Regions from separate parts of the Homo sapiens genome. Here region 2 is linked to region 1. Evidence: promoter capture Hi-C in 16 types of primary human blood cells and fetal thymus (Javierre and others, 2016). All regions are on one chromosome and are shown on one strand. The core of a region is centred on a gene start or on the middle of the fragment in contact, and the rest is flanking DNA. Distances in the headings are between cores, read along the strand shown.

Region 1 (2,910 bases), core at 145-2,644:
TTTCATGTATTTAATTATCATCTTCAACCAAGGCAATATACTAGACACATAAATAGTTGTAAGACTTGTGAAGTACACACCAGAAAAATTCTTTATCACACATATGATAAGTTAGAGTTCAGAAACTGTGGCCACAGAACTCCAGATCTTCAATACATGTTTGCTGAATTGATGTATGAGACTTGAGAAGGCAAAAGGATAGACGTTAAGTCCTGGCATCAGGCCAACAGAGTTACATGGAGCGTGTGAGAAGTACATAATGTTACACTTCCTAAGAAATATGTCAACGAATGCCCTTTCTAAGTAGCAACGTACCTAAATAACCCTTACCACTCTCTCCAGGTAGTTTTAACAAAGGTATTGTACCGCAGCTTCAAAAAATCAAAAGTTACGCGTTTACCTATCCATTCACTGCTCAGACAAAACAAAAACAAAAGCTACCTGTAGGAGACTTCGAAATTCCTTAATACCATAGTGTCATTAAAAACAAACACCTAGATTTACTTTACTTAGCTATATTTTACTAAGTAGTCAGGTTAGCTTTAATGCTTACCACGCCAAGGAAAGGTGGCTTTTTTCCTTTCCCGAGGGTAATCCCGTCCCACCTCCCCCTCCCTTAAATAAAGTTAAAACAACCCAAAAAAACCCAGCTAATTCTCAGCTCTGTACAGTTCTCCAGTACAAGCAACAGTAGTTCAACCTCAAGAAAAAGACATCTTAAAGGCCGTACATTAAAAGTTGCCAGGGATCCAGCCGCTTACATTTCATGAAAAGTACAGACCATACCCGTTTAGCTAGCTGTGCACCTTAACTGGTCGAGAAGGCGCGCTGGGGGCTGGGTTTGAGGGTGAGCAAAAGGCAAGATTATTAGTTTGGGTTGACGTGGGGGTCAAGGGGAGAGCAGAGGAATAATCTGTAAGATCTGAGTCCCGAAGCTCTTTGGGTTATGGAGGTTAGAAAAGGGCCTGTTAAAGTTAGGCCCAAGTTTCGGCAAGGTGGAACTGGGAAAAAAAAAAAAGAAAGAAAAAAAAAACGAAACCCGAAAAAACAACAGCGAGCAGGCTCCCGAGTTCTAGCGTTCACAGTGAAGCCGTTAAACGCAGCAGGAAAGTAGGCGTGTGTTTTCTTCCTCTTCCCGCCTCCCCAGAGACTCGAGCCCAGTCCTTTCCCCTCATTTTCACCCCAGCCGAGTCCAATGGCTGCCCTCGCCGCGGAGTCGGGTCGGAAGACGCCCCGCCCCCTCGCCGCGTTCGCCCTAGGGAACCCCTCCGCCCCACCTTCCCTGCCCGATGAGGGGCAGTGGCTGCCGCCGTCACGTGTGCTGGCAGCCGCCAAGTGAGGCCGCTTTTGCGACGCGGTGACAGCCAAATGGTGCGACAGGAGGAGCTGCAGCCGCGGCCGCAGCGCCCGCACGGAGAGGCTTGAGGCGGCTCCTGGCGTCGCCCAGAGGGAGCGACTAGACGAACAGTCCGGTGAGGGCGGCGAGAGGAAGCCCGCTACGAGTGCCCTAGCTCCCCGCCGCTCTCGATGAACCGGACGGAATAAGCCGCGCCTCCAGCAGGGGCTGCGCCTCCATGAATCCCTAGTTGTTTTTTTTTTTTTCTTTCTCTCCCCTCTCCTCACCCCCACCCCGAGCCCCGTCCCGCCTTCTCCCTTCGCCAGAGGCGGCCGCGTCCAGGTGCGGAGTCCATACCGGAGCGCAATGGCGTCCAACCCCGAACGGGGGGAGATTCTGCTCACGGAACTGCAGGTAAGGGCCGCGGCCCTGGTGAGAGGCGCTGGCGGAGGAGACAGGGAGAGAGCCCCGCGCGGCGTCGGGGACCGAGGAAAGCCCTGCGGCCGCCGCGCCCCTAGCCCGCTAAGTGCGGAAACTCCGGGATGTCACTCGGGAAATGCTTCCCTCGGGGAACCGCTTCCCTGGGGAGCCGGACCCTCTCCCCCGCCAAAGCCCTGGCCTGCCACCGCTTTGGTTTGATTCTGCCTACCAGAGGGGACCCCATCTCTGCAGCCCTGCTGCAGCGGGAGCCTGCTCTCGCCTGGTCCCCGGAGAGGCCGGCCCGTCGCCCCCTCCCTCGGTGTCAGAGCTACCCGCGAACGCCCCTGTTGCCCCCTCCCTTCGCGCGGCCGGGCCCCGCCCCGCCTTTCCTCCGTACACCGCTCCTTAAACTCCTTTGAATGACTCCCAAGCTGTTTTCTTGTCCCTCCCCCTCCCCTCAGACTCCGCACAAAGAGCGCCCCCATAACTTCCAGCCCCTAGACAAGTTTTTTTAAAAAACGAGTCTCACCAAATGTTTGCTTCACTTCAGCAGCCCTCTTCAGGTGACAGAGTTTCTTTCCTCTATTTTGAGGGTTATCTTTTTCTTTTCTTTTCCTTTCTTTTTTTTTTTTTAACCGAGTGATAAATACAGGGTGCCTTTCTCTGCTACCCCTGCCCAGATCCGGGAGCTCAGATGCTGATGCTTTTCAGACTTTCATTTTCCCTCTCATTTGAGCACCAGAGAAAGAGCTAATAAGTTGTTTACTAATGAGAAAGCAGTCGACTAAGGGAAAACATTGGGCACCACATGTCTGCAAAAGATGAGAGCAAAGTAGATCGCTTAGTTAAGTCATGTCGAGTAGCAATGTTATTTCCCATTTCCAGATAAATATTTGATAATGTAGGCACGATTTTCTTTAGATCTCTATGGTGTACATGGGGACTTAAGCTACCCTGTCGGGTTTTTCATTACTTGGGAGTGTTCCAGAGATGTTTGTTTTTTGACTTAAAAGTTATTTTGCTTTATTTTAATATAGTTATCTTTTAGCTACTCAAAGATTGTAGATGGGAATTAGGAGAAAAAAATAGCATGCCTGCATTTCTTTTTGTGTGTTGGACAGTTAATTTTTTTTAAAAAAAAGACTAAATCAAGA
Region 2 (2,754 bases), core at 60-2,559, 5.2 Mb after region 1:
AGGGCTGGAACAAGGGCAAAGCAAATGAAATACTGACCCCAAAAGCTAAAACCCAGTAAACAAGATTACCTTTAAAACAAAAAACAAAAAAACCTGCCCAACTCATGATTTTTAAAAAATCAAAATTTGGCCGGGCGCGGTGGCTTACGGCTGTAATCCCAGCACTCTGGGAGGCCGAGGCAGGTGGATCACGAGGTCAGGAGTTCGAGACAGCTTGGCCAACATAGTGAAACCCCATCTCTACTCAAAGTAAAAAAATTAGCGGGGCGTGTTGGTGCGCACCTGTAATCCCAACTACTCAGGAGCCTGAGGCAGAAGAATTGTTGGAATCCGGGAGGCAGAAGTTGCAGTGAGCCGAGGCTGCGCCACTGCACTCTAGCCTGGGCGACAGAGCAAGACTCCGAATCAAAAACAAACAAACAAAAAAATCAAAATTTAAACACTGGAGCCAACCCTGCATTTACTTCACTAGCCTCATCCTTCCTAGATGTAACTTCAGAAGCAGAACGATTAAAATTTTTCTGTTTAAAGTCAAATATAATGGGTAGACCAACATTCTGACCCACCTATAGAAGAGGGGAGAAAGGGAATATTAACTCTGAACACCGATGTGTTTAGGAACACACTGATGGAATCAGTCGCCGCCCTTACCTTTACGTACAGGAAAAAATCGCCGCCGCTCCGTTCCCTGCATCGCTGAGTCAGAATGAGACAGCCGACTAACGCCACTAAGAGTCACCAGGCGACGACACCACAGCCCTCCTCACGCCTTAAGGAGGTGATGCTGGACAGCTGCCAGCCTCCCCACGTGAAAACGAAGCTTTTTTTCCAGCCCCCCTAAATGGGGCTTGTGCATGGTGGCCGAAATTAACCCTCCTTGGTACCGTGTTAACAGTAAGGTTTAAAAGTTCGAACTGTGCTTCTGCATTAAGGAGTTGAACGACCCAAATAAAGTTATCTAACCTCTCTTCCATACTAAAAATTGCCTTAAGAGACAGTGGTGAAGGCTAAACAGTTTCCGTGACAGGCTTAGCACGGGGCCTGGGAGACCCAAGCGCGCGGCAAGCTCGGGTCCTCTCTGTCGGCAGGTCCTCACCCTTAACCGGACCCTTGCGCCGCCCCGCCTGCCTGAGCGCGGCTCTGCGAAGCGGCGAGAAGTAGGGAAGACTGGATTTCCTACCTTTTGCCCGGAACTTTCAGCCGACGCGGCTTGGATGCTGGCCTTAGCCCGTGCAGATCTGGTAACCACCATCTTTCCGGCTCCCTCGCGACCACCACGACTTCCCTCTTCCCTGGCGCTCCGGAAATGCGTCAGAGAACTGCCTCGAGCGCGTTTTCCGCGCAGATCCGAGAATTCGCGAGAATCTCCGCCCAGCCAGTTCAGGCCAGGGCGGTCAGAGACAAAGGGCCTGGGTTTAAGTGTGCATTTCAGAGCTGTAGAAGGCAAGCCAGATTTTTGCTGGGAAAGACCTTCATCGGGGCGGCGAAGCCCGCAGTGACAGAGGGTCTTAGCGTACCCGTTCACATGAATTGTAAAAACGCACTTACATGCCATTCGTTCTTTCATTTGTTTAGTAGAATCGTTTGAACCCGGGAGGCGTTCTTTCATTTCTACGTTCTAAAGAGCTTAATGTAGCCATTGGTATGTCCAAGGGAGAAGTTTGAGATATTTGTGCTTTTTAAAGAAAGACAATATTTACTCGTGTATTGTGACGCTAACTATAAATAAAATTTAAGGACTTGGTTGGGGTAAAAGGGATATAAGGTGCTCGCAGGAACTGGGAGACGAAGTGGAAAGCTGTATAATCTAAACGTGAGATGGTGTTTAGGGATTGGGAATAGCAGAAAAGAAAAAAACGTTAAAGAAATTGTAAAGGAGAAGAATAAGGTTTTGTTGTTGTTGTTGTTGTTGTTATTGTCACAGTGAAAGGAAGAGTATGACCAGAATCAAGAGGTTTCTTTGGTTATCTTTTGAGATAAAAGGTAGAGAACTATGTTTGAGGGGATGGGAAGGGGTTGAAAAAATAAGTAAACGCAAATTATTGTTGGAGGTGAGAAAGGATGAATGAGTGCCTCACCAAACCTAGTCTCTACTTCATGACAGAAAACCAATTTTTTATTTAAAGTCACAGAACACTGTGTCGATGGACACACTGCTTCCCAGCTTAAAATAGCTTATTTTATAGTCTCTCTTGCAGCCAAATGTGGCTATGTGACTACGTTTTAGCCAATTAGGTATAAATTGTGTGCATGTCTTTAGGGACGGCATCTAAAAGAGAGGAGGCCGTCCCTGACTTTTTTTTTTGGAGACGGAGTCTTGCTCTGTCGCCCAGGGTGGAGTGCAATGGCGCAATCTTGGGTCACTGCAACCTCCGCCTCCCGGGTTCAAGCGATTCTCCTGCTTCAGCCTCCTGAGTAGCTGAGATTACAGGCGCCCGCCACCATTCCTGGCTAATTTTTTTTTTGTATTTTTAGTAGAGACGGGGTTTCACCATGTTGGGCAGGCTGGTCTTGAACTCCTGCCTTCAGGTGATTCACCCGCCTCGGCCTCTCAAAGTGCTGGGATTACAGTGCTGGGATTATAGGCCTAAACGACCTCGCCCAGCCCTCCTGATCTTTTAAAGTGCATTTTACTTCCTGGAAAGTTGGGTTCGCTGGTTTTCAGGCGGCAAGTTTGTGCCATAAGGATGAAGGCATGCTTTAGAGATGGCATAGCAGTGAGATGGAAAAATCAACTTGTGGAGCTGCCCTATG

What was found. The method cuts DNA at HindIII sites, captures the fragments that hold promoters and counts their contacts. A CHiCAGO score of 5 or more calls a contact.
Region 2: a contact is called between the fragment with the promoter of DNTTIP2 here and the fragment with the promoter of PKN2 in region 1, in 3 of 17 cell types (naive CD8 T cells, total CD8 T cells and non-activated CD4 T cells). The highest score is 9.2, in naive CD8 T cells.

What each region holds. Positions count from the first base shown.
Region 1 is chr1:88,682,879-88,685,788 of GRCh38, forward strand. It overlaps PKN2 (protein kinase N2), which reads left to right and starts at 1,395. Exons shown (of 22, transcript NM_006256.4): 1 at 1,395-1,750. The coding sequence starts at 1,703. It overlaps PKN2-AS1 (PKN2 antisense RNA 1), which reads right to left and starts at 2,326. Exons shown (of 4, transcript NR_110682.1): 1 at 2,286-2,326. RefSeq lists enhancers at 1,230-1,559, 1,590-1,669. The HindIII fragment of the contact is 6,383 bases long and covers 1-2,910 here.
Region 2 is chr1:93,877,897-93,880,650 of GRCh38, forward strand. It overlaps DNTTIP2 (deoxynucleotidyltransferase terminal interacting protein 2), which reads right to left and starts at 1,310. Exons shown (of 7, transcript NM_014597.5): 1 at 1,181-1,310. The coding sequence starts at 1,252. RefSeq lists enhancers at 1,036-1,465, 1,317-2,132. The HindIII fragment of the contact is 5,310 bases long and covers 819-2,754 here.